Linked DNA regions of Homo sapiens: all the other regions are linked to region 7. Evidence: promoter capture Hi-C in 16 types of primary human blood cells and fetal thymus (Javierre and others, 2016). All regions are on one chromosome and are shown on one strand. Each heading gives the region's core, a stretch centred on a gene start or on the middle of the fragment in contact. The rest is flanking DNA. Distances are from core to core; before and after follow the strand shown. Region 1 overlaps LOC100287467 (a long non-coding RNA gene). Region 2 has its middle 27 kb from the start of TSPYL1. Region 3 has its middle 40 kb from the start of DSE. Region 4 overlaps TSPYL1 (TSPY like 1). Region 5 has its middle 12 kb from the start of TSPYL1. Region 6 has its middle 23 kb from the start of DSE. Region 7 holds the start of CALHM5 (calcium homeostasis modulator family member 5).

Region 1 (4,081 bases), core at 1,198-3,697, 140 kb before region 7:
TACAGTGTGCGCCACCATGCCCGGCTAATTTTTTGTGTGTGTTTTTAGTAGAGATGGGGTTTTGCCATGTTGCCCAGGCTGATCTCGAACTCCTGGGCTCAAGCAGTTTGCCTGCATTGGCCTCCCAAAGTGCTGGGATTACAGGTGTGAGCCACCTCACCCAGCCTATTTAGTAACACTCTATAAAACAGTGGTTCCAAACTTTTGGTACATTGGAATCACAGAGTTTTAAACACCTCAAACTTTCTAATTTGGTTGGTACAGACTATAACTGGGGCATCGGAAGTTCTTTTTTTGTGGGGGGGATGGAGTCTTGCTCTATCGCCCAGGCTGGAGTGCAGTGGTGCAATCGGCTCACTGCAAGCTCCGCCTCCTGGGTTCACGCCATTCTCCTGCCTCAGCCTCCCAAGTAGCTGGGACTACAAGCACCCACCACCACGCCTGGCTAATTTTTTGTATATTTAGTAGAGACGGGGTTTCACCATGTTAGCCAGGATGGTCTCGATCTCCTGACCTCGTGATCTGCCCATCTCGGCCTCCCAAAGTGCTGGGATCACAGCCGTGAGCCACCGCACGTGGCCGGAAGTTCTTAAAGCTCTCCAGATGGTTCTAATGTGCAGCAAAGTTTGGGAAGCACCACTACGTAGCATTGGTTCTAACTCTGGCTGCACATTGGAACTATCTCGTACCTTTAAAAGCATATGGGGTATCTGGACTTCATCCTAGAAGGAATTAAATCAGAATTTCTAAGAGTACAACTAGGCATTGGTGTGTTTTGGGTTCTCCCAAGTGATGCTAATATGCACCCAGGGGTTAGAATTACTATTATAGAATACTGCCACGACAATCCTTATCTCCTCCTGAAGAGCACAGAAGGCTTGATTTCCAAACTATTGCAAAAACTGGCATGACCTCAACTACTTTTAGCAGGGTTCTGAGAGGTAGGGTATCACTCACCTTAATTGCTTCAGATCCTGCCTGAAAAATGCCCAGGCATGTTCCAGTCCACACAAGACTGATTCCAAAGGGTGTATCTCTCATTGACAGCCCCTAGAACCATTCTAAGTTATGACAATAAACACCTACTTACTGAGTTCTCATTCCTTGGCAGGTATTTTATATACAACGTTTGGTTTGCTCCTTCCAGAAACTGTATGAGAAAAGTTTGCATATCAAAATCCTACTGATGAGAAAGTGGAACTCAACAATGTTAAATGACTTGCCTGCCTAAGGTCACACAGTTAGTGACAGAGTCTAGATTTCAGCCTAGTTTTGTTCAACTTCAAAGTCCTTGCTCTTATTTGATGGACACATTAAATTATCCACCATGGTATCTAGACTGGGACACAGCCACAATCTGAAAATTGAATTCTAATTTAATAAACGTGCCCTCTGCCAGGAAATATGAGGAATGGCTATAGAAATGAAGAAGAGTCTCTACCATGAAGGAGCTTATAATACTAAATGTTACACTCCTTTTGGTCTATTAAGTCTAAGGAAAAGAATAAACATCTAATTTCATTCATTCATGTAACAAATATCAGTAATTTTTGTAATTTCAGAGAACAATATTATAATTTGGAAGGTGTTTAGGACACCTTAGGTAGTTTATAATAAGAGGTGATATAAAATCATCCATTTCAAAAGTCAATTGTCAATGAATGGAGAATAGCTTTCAACTGAGGCCAGGATACGCAAACTGTAAATGAGGCTTTAGACACAAAAAGTTAGTCTAGGCCAAGTGGTTTAGTGGAAGGATCCTAGATTTTATGTCAGAAAACATAATTGTTATGTGGTCTGAACCATTTATGGTTTGGGAAATTCACTTTAACTTTCAGAGCCTCTGTTTCCTCATCAGTCAGTGCCTGTGAGGATAAAAGGAGACACGTATGGACGTGCCTGGTACATTTCATGACCTATTAGAAGATTGTGAGGCCAGGAAGTATGTACCTGCAGAAATCTCAAATTGTGACTTGCAGTGGAGGTGGAATTCAATTATTATTAAGAATGTAGGTCAATGTTTCATTTTTTTTAAAGATGAAAACTAAGCCCACGAAGCTTGAGTCATCTGGAGATGAAGCAGTCGCAGCGGAGCAGTCTTGGTAATGGAGAAGATCATGTCAGCGCTGAGAAAGGCAGGGAGGGAGGCCTGAGCAAGGAAGCTTGGAGAAGCCTCTGGAGGATGCCTGGCCAGGGCTGAATGCTCAGAAATGGAAGGGAAAGCTCAGGAGATTATCACTGAATCAGTAAGTACAAGTACAGGGCAGTATGGCTTGAGCAAACCAAAATGATCTTACTTCTTCTGTGATCTGAAGATGAGAGAATCTATAGGTGCAGGGTAAGGCAGTTTTACAAATAGAATAATTTTGGCCTGAGGAAGAAAAACAAAAAGCATTTCAAGAATGGAAGCAGATGTATAGTCATGGACCAGACTGATTAGTAAAACATAAAAGGCAGATTAAAATTTAGTTTAATGAATTAAACTCAAGAGGAGAACAGAAGCCGCATACCTGTAACAGCCCTGTAATATTGTTACTCTGTTATTTTAGGCTAAAGCCAAGAATAAACTAAGGACGACAACAACAAAAAATAACATTTTGTTTTGTTCAGACAAGAAGAACATGGAAGGGATGCCTCTGCTTGAGATAAAATGGATGACTAAACAAAACTAATTCCCTTTTTTTTGTCTTCTCTATTATGTAAAAATAAACCATTAAATGTAAGGGATAAAATAAGCTTTCAAAGAGTTAACTGAAAAGATAGGTGAAGAAGCTTGTAAGAAAATATGTCCTAGCTGTCTAAAGCTTAACTTCTTCTTGCCTAGTAAATTTCCATCTCAGCAAGGAGAGTTTACCAATAAGGACTCTCAGCTAGAATCAGCAGAGGGAGATGAACACTAAAAAACTGGAGGTGGACAGATGGAGTTCCAGTTTTTGCCTTAGTCTGAAACCGAGGCAAGAAACTTTTCACAGATACTGAACAAAATGAATAAACCTATTATTAAAATGACATCTGGATACTTAGAAAAGGAAGACACAATTTTGTAGACATGAACCACAATTCACTAAGTAGTCATTTCCTTTGTTTTTTGACAATATTACAGTAGAGCAAAGACATCCAATAGACAAAGCTCATCTGCTGTCTGTTTGGAGCTGCATCTAGGCGTAAGGGGTCACTTTTTCCTAATCCTTCAGCTAAGGTGAGAGTGGGGATACCTTTTTCTAATTCTTACAAAAGTGCCACGTACCCATGTACACAGGCTGCTACCCTGGGACAACAGACAAAAATAGGACAAGGTAACATGTGGGTCCTCAACTGATAAGAATGTTCATCAGTAGCATTCAAATCCAGTGTCGGTTGGCAGAGGAAGGTACCTGAGAATGAGAACTTAAATGATGGCATGGCATACAGACCGGATTTACAGAGGTCATGAAATTGAGAGGTGGAATTACTCAGTTATATCAATGATACCCAATATGTCAACAAGCTAAGAGGCCTAATTTAACACAATAAAATTCAGTAGAATCACAGGTAAAGTGCTGAACACTGCATTGAGTGTAGTTGTTTAGTTCAGTGATTCTCCAACTAAACTTTTAACACTTTAAGGTTTTATTTGGTAGATTGTAATATGGAGTCAGCTGGGTAATATTGCTGCCATGGAAGCTCCAAGGATATACTTAGGGAAATACAGTAATTACAACAAAGCCATTAAACATCTTTCTAGTTTGTCACTTGGGTGAAACCTTGAATTCAATTCTTGGCATCAGGGTTTGAGAGAGATGTTGGCAAAGTAAATCTCCTCCTGAGAGCTTTCCTAATGGATGAAGAAAAGCTGATGGAGTTAATATGTACCCAGGTAAATTGAAGTATTCTCCTGTGGAATCAAGGCTAGGTGTATCCTGTAGATTCCAGAGAGCAGAATAGCAGATCTGTTGAGACTTACTGTAATGGGGTGGGCGGGGGCGGGGGGACGGGGGGGGCTTTGCACAAAGTGAATGTCATCCAGAGGCCAATTCGCAGGTCACTCAAAAGCAAAATTGTGGGGGGTGTGAGGGTAAAGGGGAGCAAATGACAGTCAGTA
Region 2 (3,890 bases), core at 1,113-3,612, 200 kb before region 7:
TTTGCACATAACCTGCGCTAAATCCTGTTGGGTCTCCCACATAAGTGTCCTCCCTTCTCTCCCATCCTCTCCCATCCCAGTAGCATCTTAGCTGGTTTGATCTCCCAAGGCTCCTCCCTGCCCCTTATTTAATACTCTCTGTCATCTATCCATTTCTTTCTTGAAGACCTTAGTTATTTTTCAGTAATAAAGATTTTAAAACATATTGTTGCTTTAAAAGTTCTCACTATTAAAGAAAAGGTTAGTTTCCTGAAACAAAAAATAAAATAAAGACTCAGGAACTGTTCCAGATTGAAGGAGACAAAAGAAGCAAGAAAGTGAAATGCAATACATGGTCCTGGATTAGGTCCTATACAAGAAAAACAATTGACATAGTATACAGATCACTATTAAGGCAATTGACAAAATTGGAATAGATAAAATTATTACATCAGTGTTAATGTCCTGAGTTTGATAATTATACCGTAGCTATAGAGTATCCTTTTTTTTGTTTTTGTTTTTTTGAGTTGGAGTTTCGCTCTTGTTGCCCAGGCTGGAGTGCAATGGCGTAATCTTGGCTCACTGAAATCTCTGCCTCCCAGGTTCAAGCGATTCTCCTGCTTTAGCCCCCTGAGTAGCTGGGATTACAGTGTAGCATGTGCCACCACAGCCAGCTAATTTTTGTATTTTTAGTAGAGACAGCGTTTCACTATGTTGGTCAGGCTGGTCTTGAACTCCTGACCTCAGGTGATCCACCCACTTCAGCCTCCCAAAGTGCTGGGATTACAAGTGTGAGCCACCGTGCCTGGCATAGAGTATCTTTATTTCTGTAACATATACACTGAATTATTAAGAGATAAAGGGATTAATGTGTGAACCCATTCTCAACTAGTTTAGAAAAAAATGTATGTATGTACATGTGAGTATGTGTATGTGTGTATAGATACACATACACATCCATATCAGTATATAAATGATATATGCATATATATGTAAAAAGAGAACAATAAATATGGCAAGAGAGTAATGATTGGTAAATCTGGATAAAAACTACAAAGAAGTTCTTTGTACTATTCTTGCAACCTTTCTATAAGTTTAAAATTATTTCAACATAGAAACTTTTAAAAACTCAATTTTTAGATATTGAACTTATGTAACTGTTATCCAAACAACAGACTTTATTATAACATACATACACACACAGGTACATACACATACAATTTCATAAACTTCCCACTGCCCATAAAAAGAAATTTTAAGCTCATAAACATTATGCTCAGGGAGTTTCTACAATCAGGTCTCATCCTAATTTTCCTGCCTCACTTTTTGCTTTCTCTAAGGCACTCCTTACTCTATATATGCTGAAATGATTATGTTTGTTTCTCCTTCTGTGTTTTTGTTCCTGCTGTTTGCTCTATAAGGTAAGCCCTCCCAGCTCTTCCACTGGTTACCTCCTATGCCTGCTTTGAGACCAAGTTCAAATGTTGCTTCTATAATACCCTTCTCTACAGCACTAGGCAGATACAACTCTTCCCTCTTTTTGTGAACTGAATGTTGTGTTCCCCCAAAATTTATATGTTGAAGCCATAACTCTCAATGTGATACTCTTTAGAGATGGGGCCTTTGGGAGGAATTAGGGTTAGATGAAGTTATGGGGGCAGGACCCTAATGATGGGATTTGTGCCCTAAGAGCTCTCTTTGCCTTGGGAAGATACAACAAGAAGGCTGCCATCTACAAGCCAGAAAGGGAGCCCTCCCCAGGAGCCAAATTGACTAGCACCTTGATCTTGGACTTCCCAGCATCCAGAACTGTGAGAAAATACAAAAAACATTTCTGTTTTTTAATCTATTCAGTCTATGTTATTTTGTTAGGGCAGCATGAGCAGACTAATATACCTCCTCTGTGTATTCATACAACTTTACACAGAGGTAAAATATAGCAGTTAGAACTCTATCTTATATTGGGTTGTTGATGAATCTTTCACACAGGCATGTGAGTCCTGAGGACAGCAGCTATGTGTTTCATCTTTCTGTCCCTAACTCACTGCCTGACCCATGGAGACCTTAAGTCCAGGCTTGCTGAATGAATATGGCATAATCTGAACCTGACCACTCCAATCATTCATTAACCTTACTGTTTGGGTGTGGATTGATCATTACTTTTCTTGAATTTGTGACAAGATAATTTCAGCAGTTGACAGACAGCTAGTTTCTAGTCAAGCCGATGCATTGTATATGCTCCTACTTGCCTGTTCCTATGTCTTCAGTGATGGATTCAGTGACCTGAAGAGTGTATCTTAATAAAGAATTTTGAATGCATTTGGTTGAAAACATTCTGAAAAGAACCTTTTCTTCATACATTTTATATGGATATGAACTAGACAATAATGTATGCTTATAATAATTGAGAAGTTTTTAAAAATGAGATGCTGTTACTAATAAATTATGATTAATTCTTTCTCTAAAGGTAGTACGAAGTTAAACAATGGTAGGAATCTTGGTCTCTGTTTATTATCCTTACTCCAACTCATCTTTCATTACAAATAATTTTTTTATACAGTCCCCTCTCTACCCTCTTACACAGAGGCATTTCAGCAGATATTTTATTGAAAACAAAACACTGTGCAGCCCATGCTGCACAAGGAAAGAAGTGTGTACAAGATAATTCCAAAGGGCAATACATGTTTCTAGTTAAAAATTGGAGGGTCATGTAAATATGAACTGTTTAGTCAAGTTCAGGTAAAATTAGGAGGAATTACTGGAAAAGCGTGAACAGTGAATATATTCCTTAGTTCTAATTCTTTCAATAGTCATCTCTATCAACTCAGAGATTGCTTTTGCTTGTTTTCTTTGTTTTTTATTTCATTCTGTACAGGGCCTTGAACATTCAGTGACAATTTATGGTAACTGCAGAGTATACCATCACCATCCTGTGTTCTTTGGATAACCAGCTGGCCTAATTTTGAATGTCCTGAACCACATATTACTATAGCTCTGTGTTAACTATGTCATGGAGTGGATTTATTTCTCCTGTTGACTATTAGACAACCTGGTTGCTTCCACTTACTATTTATTCAACTAATACTGCCTGTTATATTGTATGTTGTAAGAGTTGGAGGCAAGTTGTTTCCTGGTAAGCATTAGACTCAGAAATTCTGGGAGTGTTTTTGTTTTGTTTTTAAGCTCGGCTTCAATCTTGTAAGAGATTTGTAAATCTCGTAAATGTATAAGGTAACATAGAACTTGATGTGACCTTGTTTACTCTTAGATATTTTGATATGAGCTGTTTAGACAGAAAATATTTGTTGATAAATATGAATGAAAACATAAGGAATATTGAACAGGAGGTTAAATGTCAAAGTATTATGACGATGGCCTGGCATAGTAGGTGGAATGAGGGCTTTTTAATGAGAAAGATCAGTGCCCACATTCTTGTTTTGTGACTTACTAGCTATATTTTTAAAGCAATTTACATAAACTCTTGAGCCTCAAGTATACCTTCTATAAAATGGTGATAATAACACCCATCTTTTGTTGCATTTTTTTGTTTTTTGGGGTTTTTTTTGAGATGGAGTCTCACTCTGTCACCCAGGCTGGAGTGCAGTGGCATGATCTCGGCTCACTGCAAGCTCCGCCTCCCGGGTTCATGCCATTCTCCTGCCTCAGCCTCCCAAGTAGCTGGGACTACAGGCGCCCACCACCATGCCCAGCTAATTTTTTGTGCTGGGATTACAGGTGTGAGCCACAGTGCCCGGCCTTGTTGCATTCTTTTGAAAATGAATAAAAACGGTATATAAATTATGAGTTACCGTGCCTTGAGCATAATAGATACTCATAATAGATATTCTAATAAATAGTGGCTCTTATGGTTAATGTTTTTTAAATCAAGAGGACAAATAAGATCAATTAAA
Region 3 (3,952 bases), core at 88-2,587, 180 kb before region 7:
AAGGAGCAAGAAGGAATGTAATATCTATTTTTGTGAAAGTTTCCAGAAATAAATCAACAAACCACTTTATTCTTCTTATAATTACTTGGAATCTCTTAATTCCAGAAGACTATCTGGCCTGCTGTTTAAAAGGAAGTGAGTGTTCCCTTTCAGCTTGCTTCACTATTTTTCTCATCCAGTCAGTGGTATGGGATACCAAGGATGGGATAAGGAGAGTAGTTCACCCCTAGTACAGGCAATAAGGGCTGCTTTGTGTGTAGAAAATTGAAAAGAAATAAAAATAAAATAATAATAAAAGCCAGTTCTGCTTACTACGCCTGGCAGTTCCGCTTACTATGCCTGGCAGTTCCAAGCAATATCAACAATACTACTCCTCTTTGAAAAATAAAAAAACTTTTGTTGGTCTAAGTTCTAAACAACTGCTGCAGTTGCTGAAATTTAACAAAACAAATGTAAGCTGAATATTACGTTTTTATTATTACTTATTATTTAATAAACATTGCATTCTATGTGGAAGTAATTCTAACTCTCAAATGCACATGGACTCAGCTATACTTGTTTATTTCAAGAATAAGCAGTCAAGTTCTGTTTCATTTTTATAATCACTCTGCTGTAATTGTTTATTTTTAGTCTGTGTTTAAATACAGGCTTACATAGTACCACAGGGACTGGAGATGTGACCTGAGCCTGAAGCAAGCTCAAATAATTCACAATCATTACAAGCTTTGGAGAATTTTACCAAATATGATAGAAATTTATGATGAATTTTCTGGTGAAGTTATTTTAGTGGAAATTTTTCAACAGCAGAAATATTTGAAAACTGCTGGAACTGATCCCAAAGAAAAAAGGATATGGGTAGTACTATAATTTCTGGAATTTATTGTGAAATGGGATTTGTATGAATCTGATGAATGTATTCTTATTTTAAAGATTTCATCACTATTTCCATATCTGTTATTTCACGTGAAACTTTTTGAAATTAAAATAAAAAATGTTCTTCAATCAACTATGAGTGATGTCAACACATCTGACCGCACTGATTTTACTGACCATGACTATATAAAGATTAATTTGACAAAGCATTGACAAATTTGCAAAAATTAATGCTCAAAGTCAGAAAACATAAAGTGATTATTCTTCACTGAGGCAAACCAGTATATAGGTATAAATATTTTTCTTTTCTTTTCTTTGAGATGGAGTCTTGCTCTGTCCCCAGGCTGGAGTGCAATGACGCGATCTCAGCTCAATGCAACCTCCGCCTTCCGGATTCAAGTGATTGTCCTGCCTCAGCCTCCCGGGTAGCTGGGATTACAGGCGCCTACCATCACGCCCAGCTGATTTTTTGTATTTTTAGTAGAGATGGGGTTTCATCATATTGGCCAGGCTGGCCTTGAACTCCCAACCTCAGGTGATCCACCTGCCTCGGCCTCCCAAAGTGCTGGGATTACAGGCGTGAGCCACTGCGCCTGGCCCATACTAATGTACTTAAAAAGTATTAAACCTTAACTTTTTGCATTTTCAGCTAAAATATATACTTTATTAATTTATTATTAGCATGATTACATAGTCAAAATTGAATAAATGAAAACTTTCACTGCCTGCATTTCTTTTCTGGACATAATTATTATTTGTTTCATTTCAAAATTATTACTGAAAATACTTTTATCATACAGAGGAAGGCGTATTAAAAATGGTCCCTTTCAGGCATCAAGTACCTAGCTATGCCACTGCATGCGTCTATTCATTTTAACTCAAAACAAAATGCATTTTTAATCTTTTTGGTATTACATATGTTTTTGACAATTATGCCAAAAAGCAATTTATTTTAATAAGGGAACTCTTAATAATCAAGAAATAGAAAGAGCTACCCTTAAATACAACTCTCAACTACCACCGATTTTGGTAATAACTATTTCTAGTTAATATATTTGATGTTTTGATTATTTTATTATAAGCTTAGTAGGATAAGAAAAATACAAAAAATACAACTGCATAAATCTCAACATGATGAAATAGAAATTATGACTATCTCCTTATGACTCAAAAAAGCTGAATCACTCATTTTAAACCTTCCAGTCTAGCAAATACCCTGATTTTATGCCTTTTCAGAAAACAGAAAAACAAAGATGTTCTCCAACCTAGCTTATAAAGTCAACACAACTTTGATATAAGAACATGAACATTAAATGATGAGGAAAAATTGCAGGCAACCTCAATCATGAACAGATATGCTTAAATTCTTAATATTAGATAACCATACAACATGTATATATGAAATGTCACAAGTTGAGTTTGTTGCAATTATGCAATGTTAGTTTAATATTAGAAAACTGAGAATTTATGACATTAACAGAATAAAGGAAAAAATTATATGATAATTGTACTAGATGCAGAAAAGCAGTTGGTTAAAGTAAGCATCTATTTATGATTAAAATACATCTTTGGGCAAACGAAGAATAGAAGAGAGCTTCTTTAATCAAATACAGGGTATCTACAAAACACCAATAATAAACACCATAGAAATACTGAAAACTTTCTTTCTGTGATCAGGAATAAGATAATAGTTGTATTAGTTCATTCTCTTGCTGCTATGATGAAATACCCAAGACTGGGTAATTTATAAAGGAAAGAGATTTAATTGACTCACAGTTCTGCAGGGCTGGGGAGGCCTCATGAAACTTACAATCATGGTGGAAGAGAAAGCAAACACATCCTTCTTCACATGGTGACAGCAAGGAGAAGTGCACTGCGAAGTGGGGAAAAGCCCCTTATAAAACCATCAGATCTCATGAGAAGTCACTCACTATCATGAGAACAGCATGGGGGAAATGCCCCTATGATCTAATCACCTCCCACGAGGTAACCCCCCAATATATGGGGATTACAATTCGGATTACAATTCAAGATGAGGTTCTGGGCGGGGACAGAGCCAAACCATATCAATAGTTACCAACATTTCTAGGCTACCTGCCACTGAAAGTCCTAATTAGTGTGGTAAGGAAGAAGAATTGAAAAGAACAAGTAGGCCGGGCACAGTGGCTCACGCCTGTAGTCCCAGCACTTTGGGAGGCAGAGGCAAGCAGATCACGAAGTCAGGGAATCGAGACCATCATGGCCAACATGGTGAAACCCTGTCTCTACTAAAAATACAAAAATTAGCTGGGCATGGTGGCACGCACCTGTAGTCCCACCTACTTGGGAGGCTGAGGCAGTAGAATTGTTTGAACCCGAGAGGCGGAGGTTGCAGTGGGCCAAGATGGTATCACTGCACTCCAGCCTGGCAACAGAGTGAGACTCCATCTAAAAGAAAAAGAACAAGTAAAACTGCCATTATTTGCTAAGACTATATATATAAAAAAACTCAAAGACTCTACAGATAGTTCTTAGAATTGAGTTTAATAAAATTGTATCCCAGCAACCTTGTTAAACTCAATTCTAATCTCGACTTGTAGATTTTAAAAATTTCATTTCTATGATGAGCAACAACAGAAAATAAAACTGAAAATAATCATAATAGGATCAAAAATATTTAAAACCTAAAAATAAATATTTTAGCAGTTGTAAAAGAAACATAAAACATTCCCAAGAGACATTAAAAAAGACAAATCAATGAATACTTGTACTACATTTATATATTGGAAGACTCAGCATTTTTAAAATGTTAATTTTCCTGAAACTGAGCTTTAGATCCAAAGAAATTCAAATCAAAATCCCAGTTGGTTTGTGTGTGTGTGTGTGTGTAAGAGAGACACAGGGAGAAAAGGAGTTTGAAACTCAATTCTTTAAAATATGAAAAAAAAATTAAGAGAAACAGGTATAGACAAGACACTCTTGAATAGGAGGGAAAAGGTAAGAGGAGTTGCTCTACTGGATATTAATACTTATGTCTGTGATAATTAGGATAGTACAGTATTGGGGTAAGAATAGACAAAAATCAGTGGAACAAATTGGA
Region 4 (3,982 bases), core at 22-2,521, 240 kb before region 7:
TTACCGTTACTCCCCTCAACCTTGAGGCTACCATTCCTGGGATTTCTATCACCATAAAAAAGTTTTCTATGCTAGTGAATTTCATATACATGGAATCATATAATATATATTCCTTTGACATCTTTCACTTAACATGTCTCTGAGATTCATCCATGTTGATGATCAATAGGTTGTTCCTCTTTATTGTTGAGTGGTGTTCCATTGTATGAATATACCATAATTTGTTCATTCACTCACTTGTTGGTGAACATTTGGGCTGTTTCTAGTTTGGGGCTGTTATAAATAAAACTGCTATGACCATTCCTGTGCTACATGTAAATTATACTTTATTAAAGAAAACAACAAATACCAAGTATCTATTAAAACATCTTTGGACACTTTAAAAGAGCAAATAGTGATCAACAGAAGTAAAGCATATCACTAAGAAATCATTTCCTTTTTTGGCAAGGGAATTTCAAAGACAGACGACACCTGCTGTTATGAATTTTAAAGACCTCTTTTGTTGAATTCAGGTTAATTCCATTCTGCAAGACCACAGGGGGGAAACTATGAAATAGATATACTGAAACTCTACGATATACCAGGCTCTTTGCAATAGCTGGATGTTTATAAGGTGGCAAATTTGAATCAATTTGACAAAACTGGGAAGGGAGTATGTATTCCCTAACTTAAGGAGTTCAAGAAAAGGTAAGCCATGATTCTCAAACTCAGCTGCACTTTAGGCTGTAATTTAATTGGTTCAGGGTAGAGTCTTGGCATCAGTATTTTTTGAAAGCTCAAAGCTATATATAATGATCAGCCAGGTTTGAGAACCATGAAGCTAGATGACTATTTGTCTGAATGTAAATTAAATGAGAAATTAAAATTGAGAGGAAGACAAATGGAAATTTTAATTGATTGCATATTATATGCTAGACATGATGCTTGCTGTCTAACCTCTATATTATAACTATATTAATACTTGAAATCTCTTAGCACAGTGTCAGGCGCAAAGTAAGCTCTCAAATGTTTCTGTTGTTATCTTCTCTGTAACCTTATAATGCAGTCTCCAAATGCATCCTAAAACATTAGCTTATACTGCAAGTTTTATCATCCCTACATTATGGATAAGGAAACCAAGATTCAGAGTAGTTTATTTTGGGAAATGCAATACATGGTAATTGTAAAACCGGGATTTAATCCTAATTTAAAGCTAGTATGCCTTCTCTGCCCATCAGGTCATATCTAAGACATATAGGTGTTCACAAAAATTAGTAACTTACTTAAATGACCCTTTCCTTTTTAATTGAACCATTTCCTTTTACCTGTTCTCAAAGAAATTACCTTAAATACAAATCCTAAAAAAAGTGAAGCCAAAAAGTAGACATCCACATTTTTCCTAATGTGGCTTGATAGAAACTCTTCTATAGGTCTTGACAACCTCTGAGGTCAGAGAGAATGGATTAAGATGGCCCTTCAGAGCTCAAAGCACTTAACATGGAGAAAGTACTGCTTCCAAGTAAAACACCTCCCATAATAATAAATGCATAGAGAGCATACCTGTCACTTCTATATAGTCTAGGACTTTAATTATATAATAATGTTGAAGGAAAGGAAGTCAGTCCTGAGGGGGATGGTCAACTCCTCTCAGCCAGGCTGGTCCTCTCTGAGTTTGCTTGTGTGCAGTAGATGTTTTGAATGTGTGTATTTGCTGCAGAAAAAAAGGAAACATTCAAGGAACGGTACCCCCCTCAATGAGCCTGAGTTCCTCAAGGGCAAAGACAACCTTTACTATCCCATTCAATCCTTACTTATGCTAGTATTCAATAAACAACTACTGCAAGATTACAATTACAGACCACTAATTTTCAAAAAGTATGTTTTTTTGTTTTTTTTTTTTTTTGAGACGAAGTCTCTCTTGTCCCCAGGCTGGAGTGCCATGGCTCAATCTTGGCTCACTGCAGCCTCCACCTCTTGGGTTCAAGCGATTCTCCTGCCTCAGCCTCCCGAGTAGCTGGAATTACAGGCGCCTGCCACCACACCCAGCTAATTTTTGTAATTTTAGTAGAGACGGGGTTTCACCATGTTGGCCAGGCTGGTCTCGAACTCCTGACCTCAGGTGATCCAGCCGCCTCGGCCTCCCAAAGTGCTGGGATTTCAGGCGTGAGCCACCCTGCCCGGCTGCTTTTTCAAGTAGTACGCGTTCATTGAACTGACTTAATGCAGAGCTAGACTCAGATATTTTCCTTTTCTGTTGCTAGCCAACTGTTAAAATACGACTGAAAATATTTTCTGAACATCATGTACATTTGTAAACTAAAAATAGAGCATTTGGCCGGGCACAGTGGCTCACGCCTGTAATCCCAGCATTTTGGGAGGCCGAGGCAGGCACATCGCCTGAGGTCGGGAGTTTGAGACCAGCGTGACCAACATGGAGAAACCCCATCTCTCTACCAAAAACACAAAATTAGCCGGGCGTGGTGGCGCATGCCTATAATCCCAGCTACTGGGGAGGCTGAGGCAGGAGAATCGCTTGAACCCAGGAGGCAGAGGTTGCGGTGAGCGGAAGCTTGCCATGAGCCGAGATGGTGCCATTGCACTCCAGCCTGAGCAACAAGAGCAAAACTCTGTCTCAAAAAAAAAAAAAAGAGCATTTTACTTTAGAAAATATGCATATATTGGTCTTAAAAGTCACTAAAAATTAAACCAATATAACTGTGTCAATTTGGCATCAAAATCTACCCTGCCTATATCAAGAAAGTGTTGCACAGTACATTTTGCAAAATATTCAGTGCATCTTAAGTACTCAAGAACAGTTCATTAAAGAAATTTTACTCACCTTCTTTTTACCCATTGGCCTTGAATTTAAGCAAGATAACCCTTATCTTAGTCACAAGAAGCTTCAGGAGGAGAAAGTATTAACATGTTTAATTTTTACAGATATTTTATATGCTTTCAGATATTCCTCAGGAAGTCGAGACATGCTGTCCTATGTAATTTTAGATTTACTAGTAGCCACATTAAACAATGGCAAAATGAGGATAATTAATTTTTCAATATATTTTAACACAATGTCAAAAATATTTCAACATGCAATCAATATGAAAAAAATTGAGATATTTTAACATTTTTCTTTCCATACTGAGTCTTCAAAATCCAGTGTGAATTTTATATTTATAGATCTCAATTCAGACTAGCCACATTTCAAGTGCTCAATAGCCACTGGTGGCTAAAAGTTACTGTATTGGACAACACACATCTAGAGTCTAACCCCCTTCTATCTCCAGTATAATCACCTTAAAATGTACAAAGTATATAAAAGGTAACCCAAAATTAAGTAGTGCTCTGTTAAAATGCAAGTGAAAGATTTAATGTTGAAAGTGTTTAGACGTTTTCTAATGACTAAAAGGGGAAATAGTTATTTAGGAATGGCATTGCAAATCTTTTTGACATTTTCCCATTTGCTCATTAAATCTTTCTGAGAACTAGGTTATTTTGTTCTTTTTCCTCCATCTGAGTTTTGTCATTCAATATTTATCTGCTGACAACTATGCAAAACATTATGCTAGATGGGCTGGGTGCGGTGGCTCACGCCTGTAATCCCAGCACTTTGGGAGGCTGAGGTGGGCTGATCACGAGGTCAGGAGATGGAGACCATCCTGGCTAACATGGTGAAACCCCATCTCTACTAAAAATACAAAAAATTAGCCGGGCGTGGTAGCACGTGCCTGTAGTCCCAGCTACTCGGGAGGCTGATGCTGGAGAACTGCTTGAAACCGGGAGGCGGAAGTTGCAGTGAGCCGAGATCGCGCCACTTGCGCTCCAGCCTGGGCAAGAGTGGGACTCTATCTCAAAAAAAAAAAAAAAAAATGCTAGATGCAATGAACCATGTAAAATGCACTGCATCTCCACTTTCACAAAGTTTCCAAACTACTGAGAGGAAAAGAGTGAACATGGGAAAAACATGAAAATATAATCTCTGTATTTTATTTTACTGTATCAC
Region 5 (3,775 bases), core at 636-3,135, 220 kb before region 7:
AAATATCAGAAATTTCTTTTTTAAATGGAAATATAGTCCTAGGGTCAAAGAACCTTTTCAGAACAACTAGACCTTCATGATAAAAAAAATAAAAATAATAAAAAGTAAAGAAAACCAGCCCTCTTGTTTTAAAACAAAATTCATCAAGGTCATTTACTACTTTCCACATACAAATTGATTCAATATGAAAAGTTCATATTATGGTATCCAGCTTAATACTTTGGTTGTCATAACACTTCATCCATTAGCTGAGAACTCTGCCTTGTGAGTTCTTTGGCTCTGAGACTATATTATAACTTCACTGGGTTTGTAAGCAAGCCATTCTATGCACATCTGTTTTAAAAATGTGACAGGTTGATTTGAAAAATACCATATTTCATTCATCATCATAAATAGAAATATTTATATTTATTGAATATTTACTACATAATAGATACTGTGTTAAATGCTTTTCATATATTATTTAATTGCCTCACCCCTCCATTACATAGGTAGTATTCACCCTGTTGTGAAGATTAAGAAATCCCAGAGATATCAGGTGACTTGCCTAAAGTTACATGACTAATAAGTAATGGAGTATGGATATAAACCCAGTTTATTGGCTTCAAAGCTCTTTGTACTATGCCATGTTGCTTTTCTGATTTCTTGAAATCTTTGACAGTAACCGGGGAACTCAAGGGTTACTGCCACCTATTTTCTAATAACTTCGTTTTCTTGGATCTGTATCATTAGTGCCTAGCACCTAGAAGATTCTTAGGCAGTGTTGGCTGCATTGATTGAATGATTCCACACTGATGGCTAGCTTAAACAGCCATGGAAACTTTAATTATAATATATTAATCTAAACAGGACATATGGTTTTTAGGAGTTAAGTGCCCTCAGGGGAAGCATTTACTAAATGTGGGGCACATTTTAAAAGTAATATCTCCTGCTACTGCTGATATTTCTAAATTAACAGTATTTCTAGATTCTCAGACTTGGGGTTCAGAGATTTCACTTGCTGATTAATTAATTCAAGGATATAAGAGCTCTAGCAAATAAATATTTTATTAATTTGTACTGTTCTACACTCAGGAGCAATTATTGAAAATCAAGGTTTGTTATCAGGAAATACATGAAGTCTTATTTGGAAATAATTCCTTAAAACTCATCCTGAGAAGAGACAATCTGCATCCTTCCCACTTAGTATATCATCTACCCATTTGTGGTCTCTCATAATTGGAAATATTTCCCTAATTCCAAAAGCAGAAAGGAATCCTCTTAACTGCTAACTTCTCTCCCAAAGGGAGAAACTTTTTCCAGCCAACCTCAGTGAAATTGTTGATTGAATGCTGATCCTAGAACTGCATTATGAATGCAAAAAAGTAAACAAAGCACCCATTCTAAGTTTGCTCAATTTTCTGGCCACCACTGTGCTCTGCAATGTCATCTGTAGCACAGAAGATTGGAGGCGTAGACTTGAGACCAGACCACTTCGTCTGTTCTTTCCAAACTCTCTAAATTCAAAACATTTGTTGAGGTTTATGCAGGACACAAGAGTTGTGGGATGGCATACAAAAATCTGAAAGTCATGGACTTTGTTCATTAGGGACCACAGTGTTGTGGAGAAGATAGACACAGAAACACATAATTATAATACCAGATGAAACAAACAATTATAATACCAGATGATACCAATAATTATAATACTAGGAGAGTGTTGTTCCAGCAAGAGAGATGTGGACAAAGGGCTTTGGGTGCACAGAATAGGAAATTTGTATTCCTATATTGATAAGAGAGCTTGGTAAGAATTCAGAGGTGATAATTTTGAGATGAGTCCTAATAAGAAAAATAAAATTATAATAAGAGAGAGGGGGTGAAAATTCCAGGTTGACTAAAATACCCTGAACAAAGACTCAAATACAAGTAGAAGTCCAGCCAGCTTGAGGAAATGACTGAAAGATAGGGAGATTAGTTGGGGGTGATGGTTAGGTAAAATGGAATCTGATAGTTAAAGGCTTTTTATTATACATTATTATATGTTTATGATATATTAAATATAATTATATATATACATATTTGTTAATCCTATGGGTATTAGAGGATATTGGAGGCTTTTAAACAGGGGATTGACATGGACAGTGTCAGAAAATAATATTAATTGCCATATGGAAAATGATGTGAAGGTTATATGATTAAAGGCTGGGATATCAGTTGTGAAGTATTATAAAAATGCAGGCAAGGGTAGATGAGGATATCTTTAGGAATGTAGTAACTGACAACAGAATATGTCAGATAAATTGTAGAACCAATTGAAAAACTAGATATGAAAGTAGACAAGAAGTTAAGGAAGACTGATTTGTTTAGTTTGGGTAACAAGGATGGGTGGAAATGTGATTGAGTTATGGAATACAGGAAGAAGATCGGGTTGTAGTGGGAGGAGAGATCAACAGTTCAGCTACAGACAAGGAGAGTTTCATGTGACTCTAGGGAGATGTTGGGTATTTGTAGATCAGATAGATTTGGGTATTTGTAGAGCAGGAGAAGAGTGGGGTTTACAGTTAGACTTGGAAATCTTGAGTGTTTAGGTGATAGTTGACATCATCAGAGTGGACGAGAACACCAGGAAGACAAGTAGAGGAAGAAGAAAGGAAGGCCAAAAATAGAGCTCTGAGGAACACTGACGTGAAAGAAACAGATGAGGTGGCACAAGTAGAGGAAACTGAGAAATAGCCATTAGAGGTAGGGAAAGAACCAGAAGAGTGTTGTTTCAGTATGCAAGGGAAGAATGGACTTCAGGAAGCTAAGGTTCAAGGGATGCAGCCATATTGAGTGAGATGAAGACTGGGAAGAAAAGTTTCCGAATTGGGCGGCAGCTATACAGCATGGGTGTCTTTAGTGAGAGCAATTTCAGAAAAGTAGCAAGACAGAAAAATTGCAGAGTTGAAAAAATGAATGATAAATGAACATATAGATAGTGTGTGAGGCCAGTTCTTTCATAATTGTCAGTATAGAAAAGGGGAAAGACTGGATGACAAGTTCAAGGAGATGCAGGGTTGAGGGAAGAATGTTTGTAGGGAGCAGCATTGTTGGGAGCAGAGTAAGGATCTGATTATTACACTGAAGTGTTGAGGAAGCAAACAAACAAAAAAAAAGAAAACAAACTGAATGTCAGTAAGTAGAAGAAAGGTTGGATAAATTATGGCATGTTTATACAACTGAATATTACGTAACCTTTAAAAGGAATAAATTGGATCCAAAGTAGTGACCTGGAAAAGCATCCATGTTAATTAGAAAGATGTAAAAGAACATTGCAGACCAATAAGTATATGCTAATTATATTTTAATAAATATTAGCTGACACCCTTGTATCTATATAAATGCAAGAAATATTAAGAAAGGATGTGTACCCAGTTGCCAACAGTGGTGATCTCTGGGGGATGAGGATGGGAAGGGGACTTTAGCTTATTGCTTCTTAGAATTTTAAAGAGAGGTGGTGACATTAGGAATGACTTTTACACATTGGATTTAAAATATTTTTCAGACAAACATTAAAGAAAACCCTCTCATACAATGATGAGATAATTTAACTTTATATAATTAACTACAGAATTCAAAGAAGAAAATAACATAAACGAACACATTTGCTTTAATAAGTTATTGGGCTTGTATTTAAAGCTGAAGCAAAAACATTTGCTCAGATGTGATATTGAGTTCAAGGTGAATTAAAGGTTTTTCCTTTTCTTTTTTTCTTTTTTTTTTTTGACACGGAGTCTTGCTCTGTCACCAGACTCGA
Region 6 (4,122 bases), core at 847-3,346, 160 kb before region 7:
TTAGACCAATATCCCTGATGAACATCGATGCAAAAATCCTCAATAAAATACTGGCAAACCGAATCCAGCAGCACATCAAAAAGCTTATCCACCATGATCAAATGGGCTTCATCCCTGGGATACAAGGCTGGTTCAACATACACAAATCAATAAACGTAATCCAGCATATAAACAGAACCAAAGACAAAAACCACATGATTATCTCAATAGATGCAGAAAAGGCCTTTGACAAAATTCAACAGCGCCTCATGCTAAAAACTTTCAATAAACTAGGTATTGATGGGATGTATGTCAAAATAATAAGAGCTATTTATGACAAACCCACAGCCAATATCATACTGAATGGGCAAAAACTGGAAGCATTCCATTTGAAAACTAGCACAAGACAGAGACGCCCTCTCTTACCACTCCTATTCAAAATAGTGTTGGAAGTTCTGGCCAGGGCAATCAGGCAGGAGAAAGAAATAAAGGGTATTGGATTAGGAAAAGAGGAAGTCAAATTGTCCCTGTTTGCAGATGACATGGTTATATATCTAGAAAACCCCATCATCTCAGCCCAAAATCTCCTTAAGCTGATAAGCAACTTCAGCAGAGTCTCAGGATACAAAATCAATATGCAAAAATCACAAGCATTCCTATACACCAATAACAGACAAACAGAGAGCAAAATCATGAGTGAACTCCCATTCACAATTGCTTCAAAGAGAATAAAATACCTAGGAATCCAACTTACAAGGGATGTGAAGGACTTCTTATGGAGAACTACAGACCACTGCTCAATTAAATAAAAGAGGACACAAACAAATGGAAGAACATTCCATGCTCATGGATAGGAGGAATCAATATCCTGAAAATGGCCATACTGTCCAAGGTAATTTATAGATTCAGTGCCATCCCCATCAAGCTACCAATGACTTTCTTCACAGAATTGGAGAAAACTCCTCTAAAGTTCATATGGAACCAAAAAAAGAGCCCGCATTGCCAAGACAATCCTAAGCAAAAAGAACAAAGCTGGAGGCATCATGCTACCTGACTTCAAACTATACTACAAGGCTACAGTAACCAAAACAGCATGGTACTGGTACCAAAACAGCATGGTACTGGTACCAAAACAGAGATATAGACCAATGGAACAGAACAGAGCCCTCAGAAATAATACCACACATCTACAACCATCTGATCTTTGACAAACCTGACAAAAACAAGAAATGGAGAAAAGATTCCCTGTTTAATTAAGTGGTTCTGGGAAAACTGGCTAGCCATATGTAGAAAGCTGAAACTGGATCCCTTCCTTACACCGCATACAAAAATTAATTCAAGATGGATTAAAGACTTAAATGTTAGACCTAAAACCATAAAAACCCTAGAAGAAAACCTAGGCAATACCATTCAGGACATAGGCATGTGCAAGGACTTCATGACTAAAACATCAAAAGCAATGGCAACAAAAGCCAAAATTGACAAATGGAATCTAATTAAACTAAAGAGCTTCTGCACAGCAAAAGAAACTACCATCAGAGTTAACAGGCAACCTACACAATGGGAGAAAATTTTTACAATCTACCCATGTGACAAAGGGCTAATATCCAGAATCTACAAAGAACTTAAACAAATTTATGAGAAATAAATCAAACAACCCCATCAAAAAGTGGGTGAAGGATGTGAACAGACACTTCTCAAAAGAAGACATTTTTGCACCCAACGGACACATTAAAAAATGGTCATCATCACTGGCCATCAGAGAAATGCAAATCAAAACCACAATGAGATACCATCTCACACCAGTTAGAATGGCAATCATTAAAAAGTCAAGAAACAGGCTGGGCACGGTGGCTCACGCCTGTAATCCCAGCACTTTGGGAGGCCAAAGCGGGTGGATTGTGAGGTCAGGAGATCAAGACCATCCTGGCTAACACGGTGAAACCCCGTGTCTACTAAAAATTAAAAAAATTAGCCAGGCATGGTGGCTGGCGCCTGTAGTCCCAGCTACTCGGGAGGCTGAGGAAAGAGAATGGCGTGAACCTGGGAGACGGAGCTTGAAGTGAGCCGAGATCGTGCCACTGCACTCTAGCCTGGGCGACAGAGTGAGACTCCGTCTCAAAAAAAACAAAAAAAAACAAAAAAAAAACCCCAAAAGTCAGGAAACAACAGGTGCTGGAGAGGATGTGGAGAAATAGGAATACTTTTACACTGTTAGTGGGACTGTAAAGTAGTTCAACCATTGTGGAAGACAGTGTGGCGATTCCTCAAGGATCTAGAACTAGAAATACCATTTGACCCAGCCATCCCATTACTGGGTATATACCCAAAGGATTATAAATCATGCTGCTATAAAGACACATGCACACGTATGTTTATTGCGGCATTATTCACGATAGCAAAGACTTGGAACCAACCCAAATGTCCATCAATGATAGACTGGATTAAGAACATGTGGCACATATACACCATGGAATACTATGCAGCCATAAAAAAGGATGAGTTCATGTCCTTTGTAGGGACATGGATGAAGCTGGAAACCATCATTCTGAGCAAACTATCTCAAGGACAGAAAACCAAACACCACATGTTCTCACTCATAGGTGGGAATTGAACAATGAGAACACTTGGACACAGGGTGGGGAACATCACACACCAGGGTGGGGTGGGTGGAGGGGGGAGGGATAGCATTAGGAGATATACCTAATGTAAATGATGAGTTAACAGGTGCAGCAAACCAACATGGCACATGTATACATATGTAACAAACCTGCACGTTGTTCTCATGTACCCTAGAACATAAAGTATAACCAAAATATATATATACACATACATATACATATATATCAATATTTATATACACTAATATAAAATGGATATGTATACATATATACATATATCTACACACACACACCCATATACATACATACACACCTCTAAACCTGGATTCCTAAAGGTTTTCCCATGCCAGTATGGCTTAGTGATTGGATAGAGGTTGTGCTGAAACACTTGAGCCAATGAAGTTTCTGTCTTTTGCCAAAGGATCTCTGTGTGGTAGGGGAGCTCACTCAGAGTTCAGGTGCTTTCAAGCTGACTCAAGCTCCAGCTTTTACTGACCACTGGACCTTTTCTTATCTCTTTTATGCAAACAAATTCAGGGGTAGCCGGGATTGAGTGACTAGCTCGGGCCTTCTCCAGGAAATATACACAGCCAGAGAAGTATTCTCCAACTGTGACTACAGCCTCAGACTAGTAGAGCAGTTGGCTTTCCCTGTTTACCCACCTCAGAGATCAGCACTTTTACCAAATATGCTGCTGGGAGTGGTCATTTCTCATCACTCCAGATTGAGTGAGCTCTCATGGATCGTGACAGAGAAGCTGCCTGTCCTCATGGCCTGGCCTCCTTCTATAAAACCTCTGTCCTTACTGAAGTGAGGAGGAAGGGAGGGCAGATATGTGAGTAGCTTCAGGCTAGAATGCCACAGGTTCTCATTATTCTTATATTCAGCAGTTTTTCAAGCCTAAACACTTCTCAGGTTGTATGCCTTTGGTTGATTTTCAGAGTGCTAAAATGATTGTTTTTGTCAATTTTATCCAGCTTTATAGTTACTTTTTACAGAGAGAATTTGTCTCCTCACTTGGCCATAACCAAAAGCTCACCACTTACTACCTTTAAAAGAATCACTTACATATTAATTATTTCATGTTTACATGCATAGTCTTTTTAAAAAAATACCTAAATGTACTACTCCCTTTTATAGTGTTTAGGAATCTGAACTTATAATTTTAAGAGGCTAATTAGCTCAAATCCAGTTTCATTTTTAAATTTTATATCTTGCTTTTTTCTATGTCAAAATGATTTATCTCATAAGAGAACAGGATAGTAAGAAAACTGAAAAGTGATCAGGCCATTTCGTATGCCTTAATAAAAACTGCCCAAGATGGTATGGTTGAGGAAGAGTATGAAGATCAATGGGTATGGGCCTACATTATTCTAGGACTGACTTATTTCCCTATAGAGTGGAAATCTTCTACTTCTAACTTCTGTGGCAATAAATTCTTTTTTTAAAAGCATGATTATATGAGAACTCTTCAGAGAAAAGAACTTGTATCTCTTCTTTTCGTATCACAAAAGCTTACTCT
Region 7 (4,233 bases), core at 366-2,865:
ATAGACATTTCTCAAAAGAAGATATACAAATGGACAACAAACATATGAAAAAATGCTCAACATACTAATCATTAGGGAAATGTAAACTAAAACCACAATGAGATACCACCTTATTCCAGTAATAATGGCTATTACTAAAAAGGCAATAACAATAGATATTGGTATGAATTTTGTGAAAACAGAATGCTTGTAGAATGCTGGTAGGAATGTAAATTAGTACAACCTCTATAAAAAACAGTATGGAGATTTCTTTCTTTCCTTCTATGTATTTATTTATGAGACAGGGTCTTGCTCTGTCACCCAGACTGGAATGCAGTGGCATGATTTGGCTCACCACAACCTCAGCCTCCTGGGCTCAAGCGATCCTCCCATCTCTGCCTCCTGAGTAGCTGGGACTACAGGTGCATGCCACCGAGCCTGGCTAATTTTTTTTTGGTATTTTTTTGTAGAGAGGGAGATTCACCATGTTGCCTAGGCTGGTCTCGTACTCCTTGGCTCAAGCAATCCACCTGCCTCGACCTCCCAAAATGCTAGGATTACAGACATGAACCACGGCACCTTTCTTTCATTCTTAAAGAAAGAACTTTAAGTACTAAAAGTAGATCTACTATTCAGTCCAGCAATCCCACTACTGGGTATCTATCCAAAGAAAAAGAAGTCATTATATATTAAAAAAAAACACCTGCACATGTATATTTATTGCAACACAATTCACAATTGCAAAGATATGAAACCAATCTAAGTACCCATCAACTGATGAATAGATAAAGAAACTGTGGTGTATATATACCATGGAATACTACTCAGTCATAAAAAAGAATGAAATAATGTCTTTTGCAGCAACTTGATGGAGCTAGAGGCGTTATTCCAAGCGAAGTAACTCGGAAATAGAAAACCAAAAACTGTAGTTCTCACTTATAAGTGGAAATTAAGCTATGGGTACGTAAAGGCATATGGAGTGGTATAATGGACTTTGGAGACTCAGAAAGAGGGAGAGTGGGAAGGGGGTGAGGGATAAAAAAATACATATTGGGTACACATACATATCCGGTGATGGGTGCACTAAAATCTCATATATATATGTATATATATATATATGTATATTTATATGTATATTTCATCCATGTAACCAAAACCCACTTGTGCTCCAAAAGCTATTGATATATATATATATATATAATTTTCATATGTTTTTATATATATGAAAAAAGACAGCAAATCCCTGTCTTCCAAATCTCAAGTCATAGGAAGAGAAAAACATTCATAAAATTCTAGGTTTGGAGATTTGATTTGTCGGCTGAAACCTCTTTCTGTTAATGTTGATTCCTTACACTGGAAAATTCCTAGACTATTATTTGTATGAGTGAGAATTTCTTTTCTGATTTTCAATCCAAACCACATGGAAAGAAGGTTAAAATGGAGCCCGTGCACTTTGAATTTATTCTCAGCATTTAGGCTGCAGTATCACAGCCCAATTTCCACCAGTAGGAGGCATTATCTAAACATGTTGAGAAATATTCATTCCTAAGGAATGACATTGTTTCCTTATCTGGCTCAATTCAGTCTGAGAAGGACTGTTGTTTCTGATGAAGAAAGAGCTCCACCCTCGGCCACTGCCACAGCTGCTCTGCCAATAACAAAGGCACAGCATTTTCCCTCTGTGCATCTCCAACATGGATGCTTTTCAGGGCATTTTAAAATTCTTCCTTAATCAGAAAACTGTTATTGGCTACAGCTTCATGGCTCTGCTGACCGTGGGAAGTGAGCGTCTCTTTTCTGTTGTGGCTTTTAAGTGCCCCTGCAGCACTGAGAATATGACCTATGGGCTGGTTTTCCTCTTTGCTCCTGCCTGGGTGTTACTGATCCTGGGATTCTTTCTGAACAATAGGTCGTGGAGACTCTTCACAGGCTGCTGTGTGAATCCCAGGAAAATCTTTCCCAGAGGCCACAGCTGCCGTTTCTTCTACGTCCTCGGCCAGATCACTCTGAGCTCATTGGTGGCTCCAGTGATGTGGCTTTCTGTGGCTCTGCTCAATGGAACTTTCTATGAATGTGCCATGAGCGGGACGAGAAGTTCAGGACTCCTGGAACTGATTTGCAAGGGTAAGCCCAAAGAGTGCTGGGAAGAACTTCACAAAGTATCTTGTGGCAAAACTAGCATGCTACCTACCGTCAATGAAGAACTGAAACTCTCCCTTCAGGCCCAGTCTCAGGTAAGAAAAGACAAACTCGCCTTTTTCTCTCAGCATGAGCTCGAAGTATTCTCTCTGTGCTCCTTTCAGCCAGGGCTGTCTGTGTCCTGTCAGAATATTTTGAAACTAAATGGAAACTGAAACATGATGCAGCATTGAGACTATCTCAGGAAAAGCTTTTGAAAGGCTGGGTGGCTCAATAAAGTTGCTGACTGGATTATCTCTTTTCCGGTTCTGAAAAGAAAATATCCACTGGATTGTCCACATATAAATACTTAAGTACTTTAAAACAGTCTCTCTGGGTCTGTAAATAAATAATGCCTAACACTAAATCATAAATTGAGTGTTAATGGCAGAGCTGTAATTAGAAATTACTGCCTTCTATCAATTATTTACATTCAAGTTGTTTTCTCAAACACACACATGTATTATTCATCTATTAAAATGTAGCTGAATGAAATGAGTTATTACTTTTCAAAGTTGCATGTAATATAATTAGTGTGGAGATTCTCTTGAATGATTTCTGGCAACTGCTATCTCTGTGTATAAATATTGTCAAGATTGAGAAGAATTTTCCTTGTATGGTAGGAATCAGCAGTTTTTAAATAGCCTTCTGTGAAAAAGTGACTGTACTCTCTAGGGAGATTATGTTTTATACTCTTTGTGCTGTACAGCTAAAGGGGTTCTTAATTACTTCAGAAGCTCAAGATTTGGGCATTGTTTTATTTAACAGAAGGAAATCATATCTTTACCTAATTGATGCAGGGAAGTAGCCTGTCATTCCTCCAGGCACATGAACACAAATCCAGATGTACAGCCTTAGGAAGGACTAACTTCCCATTTATAGGTAGTAAGAATTGCATTCCCAAAAGCAAAACAAGTGGTAAGAGTTGATAAGCAGATCCACAAATTGTCAGGAATGCTATCTGTTTCAGAATAAAGGCACAGAAATAGCATTATTTTACTTTTTCGACAAGGATTTGCCTTGGTAACAACAAATCAAGGCAAAATCTGTTTTTAAAATCATACACTCCAAAGCTGGTTGGCAGTAAAGTCATACTCTTCATAAATTGATAAGTCAAAAAATACTCCAAAACAAAATCTTTTCTTTAATGCATAAAGCACATCTTAGATAAAACATATCAGGCTCCCAAATGTCTTGTGTCTTTTATTGAAGAAGGGTATAACTTACAACTCTTATGACAGAATGATTGATTTATGGTGTATGTCCTCAGTCACCAGGCTCCATTCAGTCAGTGGCAGGCCCAAACACTTATCATTGTGTGAGCTTCTCCTCTCTAAACACAGGTACAAGGAAATCTTGCACATCATGTCATAGCTTAGGCTGAGCACACTGACCTGCTGATTCTTCATCAGAATGAGAAGGACCTGGGGCTGATTCCTGTGGGAAGATGCATAAGGAATGTGGGCAAGAGAACTTGTATCAATAGCAGGTGCTGACTACAGAGGTTCAGATAGGCAGGAGGCAGCATATAGTCCAGACCAACAATAGGTGTACATGTGCCTGGAGGCGGAAAAGAACATTCATCCATGGGTGGGGCAGATAAAAAATCTAGCTGGATGACTCTCTATTCTTAAGGAAGATAGAATGGAGTAGTGGAAAGAGCTCAGTCTTGGAATTGTCTGGCGTTGGGTTTGTATGCTGATGCTACCAATCACCAGCTATGTGACCTAGAACTAGTGGTTCGACCTCTTTGAGTCCCAGTTTTCTCATAGTTAGTGGTAATATCACTTACTTTGGAGAGTTGTCGGAAGATTTAGAGATGATAGATACAAATGGGCATAAAGCTTCTGGTACACAGTATTTGTTCCAAGTCAATGAGGAAAACTGCCATGGTTTGGGGGAGGACATATGCAAAATAAGACACTTTTGAGGGCTGGTATGGAAGCATCCACCAAGCTCTAGTTTGACTCTGGGTACTGTGAATTGAGGGAAAGCATCGGTCAATGCAAACGTCATGTGAAAGGGGGAAGGGGACCTGAAGCTGATGGAATAGTTTATAATTCAGCTGGAACTGGC

What was found. Contacts are between HindIII fragments. The CHiCAGO score rates a contact against its expected background, and 5 or more counts as called.
Region 1: a contact is called between a fragment that was not itself captured here and the fragment with the promoter of CALHM5 in region 7, in 9 of 17 cell types (naive B cells, total B cells, monocytes and 6 more). The highest score is 15.8, in naive B cells.
Region 2: a fragment that was not itself captured here is called in contact with the fragment with the promoter of CALHM5 in region 7 in 13 of 17 cell types (total B cells, naive B cells, neutrophils and 10 more); the score reaches 15.7 in total B cells.
Region 3: a fragment that was not itself captured here is called in contact with the fragment with the promoter of CALHM5 in region 7 in 6 of 17 cell types (naive B cells, total B cells, M0 macrophages and 3 more); the score reaches 9.1 in naive B cells.
Region 4: a contact is called between a fragment that was not itself captured here and the fragment with the promoter of CALHM5 in region 7, in 9 of 17 cell types (naive B cells, M1 macrophages, M0 macrophages and 6 more). The highest score is 11.4, in naive B cells.
Region 5: a fragment that was not itself captured here is called in contact with the fragment with the promoter of CALHM5 in region 7 in 16 of 17 cell types (naive B cells, total B cells, neutrophils and 13 more); the score reaches 26.8 in naive B cells.
Region 6: a fragment that was not itself captured here is called in contact with the fragment with the promoter of CALHM5 in region 7 in 1 of 17 cell types (neutrophils); the score reaches 5.7 in neutrophils.

What each region holds. Positions count from the first base shown.
Region 1 is chr6:116,364,972-116,369,052 of GRCh38, forward strand. LOC100287467 (a long non-coding RNA gene) reads right to left here. Exons shown (of 1, transcript NR_148944.1): 1 at 2,454-4,081. It also overlaps a transcript of DSE not described here. Among named protein-coding and RNA genes, the nearest start is that of DSE, 3.9 kb to the right of the region's middle. The HindIII fragment of the contact is 574 bases long and covers 2,161-2,734 here.
Region 2 is chr6:116,305,152-116,309,041 of GRCh38, forward strand. It overlaps a transcript of DSE not described here. Among named protein-coding and RNA genes, the nearest start is that of TSPYL1, 27 kb to the left of the region's middle. RefSeq lists an enhancer at 229-398. The HindIII fragment of the contact is 6,577 bases long and covers 1-3,890 here.
Region 3 is chr6:116,328,653-116,332,604 of GRCh38, forward strand. It overlaps a transcript of DSE not described here. Among named protein-coding and RNA genes, the nearest start is that of DSE, 40 kb to the right of the region's middle. The HindIII fragment of the contact is 1,232 bases long and covers 722-1,953 here.
Region 4 is chr6:116,271,968-116,275,949 of GRCh38, forward strand. TSPYL1 (TSPY like 1) reads right to left here. Exons shown (of 1, transcript NM_003309.4): 1 at 2,891-3,982. It also overlaps a transcript of DSE not described here. Among named protein-coding and RNA genes, the nearest start is that of TSPYL1, 6.0 kb to the right of the region's middle. The HindIII fragment of the contact is 2,550 bases long and covers 1-2,546 here.
Region 5 is chr6:116,289,548-116,293,322 of GRCh38, forward strand. It overlaps a transcript of DSE not described here. Among named protein-coding and RNA genes, the nearest start is that of TSPYL1, 12 kb to the left of the region's middle. The HindIII fragment of the contact is 6,300 bases long and covers 1-3,775 here.
Region 6 is chr6:116,346,328-116,350,449 of GRCh38, forward strand. It overlaps a transcript of DSE not described here. Among named protein-coding and RNA genes, the nearest start is that of DSE, 23 kb to the right of the region's middle. The HindIII fragment of the contact is 4,031 bases long and covers 82-4,112 here.
Region 7 is chr6:116,510,024-116,514,256 of GRCh38, forward strand. It overlaps CALHM5 (calcium homeostasis modulator family member 5), which reads left to right and starts at 1,616. Exons shown (of 2, transcript NM_153711.5): 1 at 1,616-2,213. The coding sequence starts at 1,674. All of the region lies in intron 3 of TRAPPC3L (trafficking protein particle complex subunit 3L), which reads right to left. RefSeq lists an enhancer at 1,327-1,908. The HindIII fragment of the contact is 2,544 bases long and covers 1-2,366 here.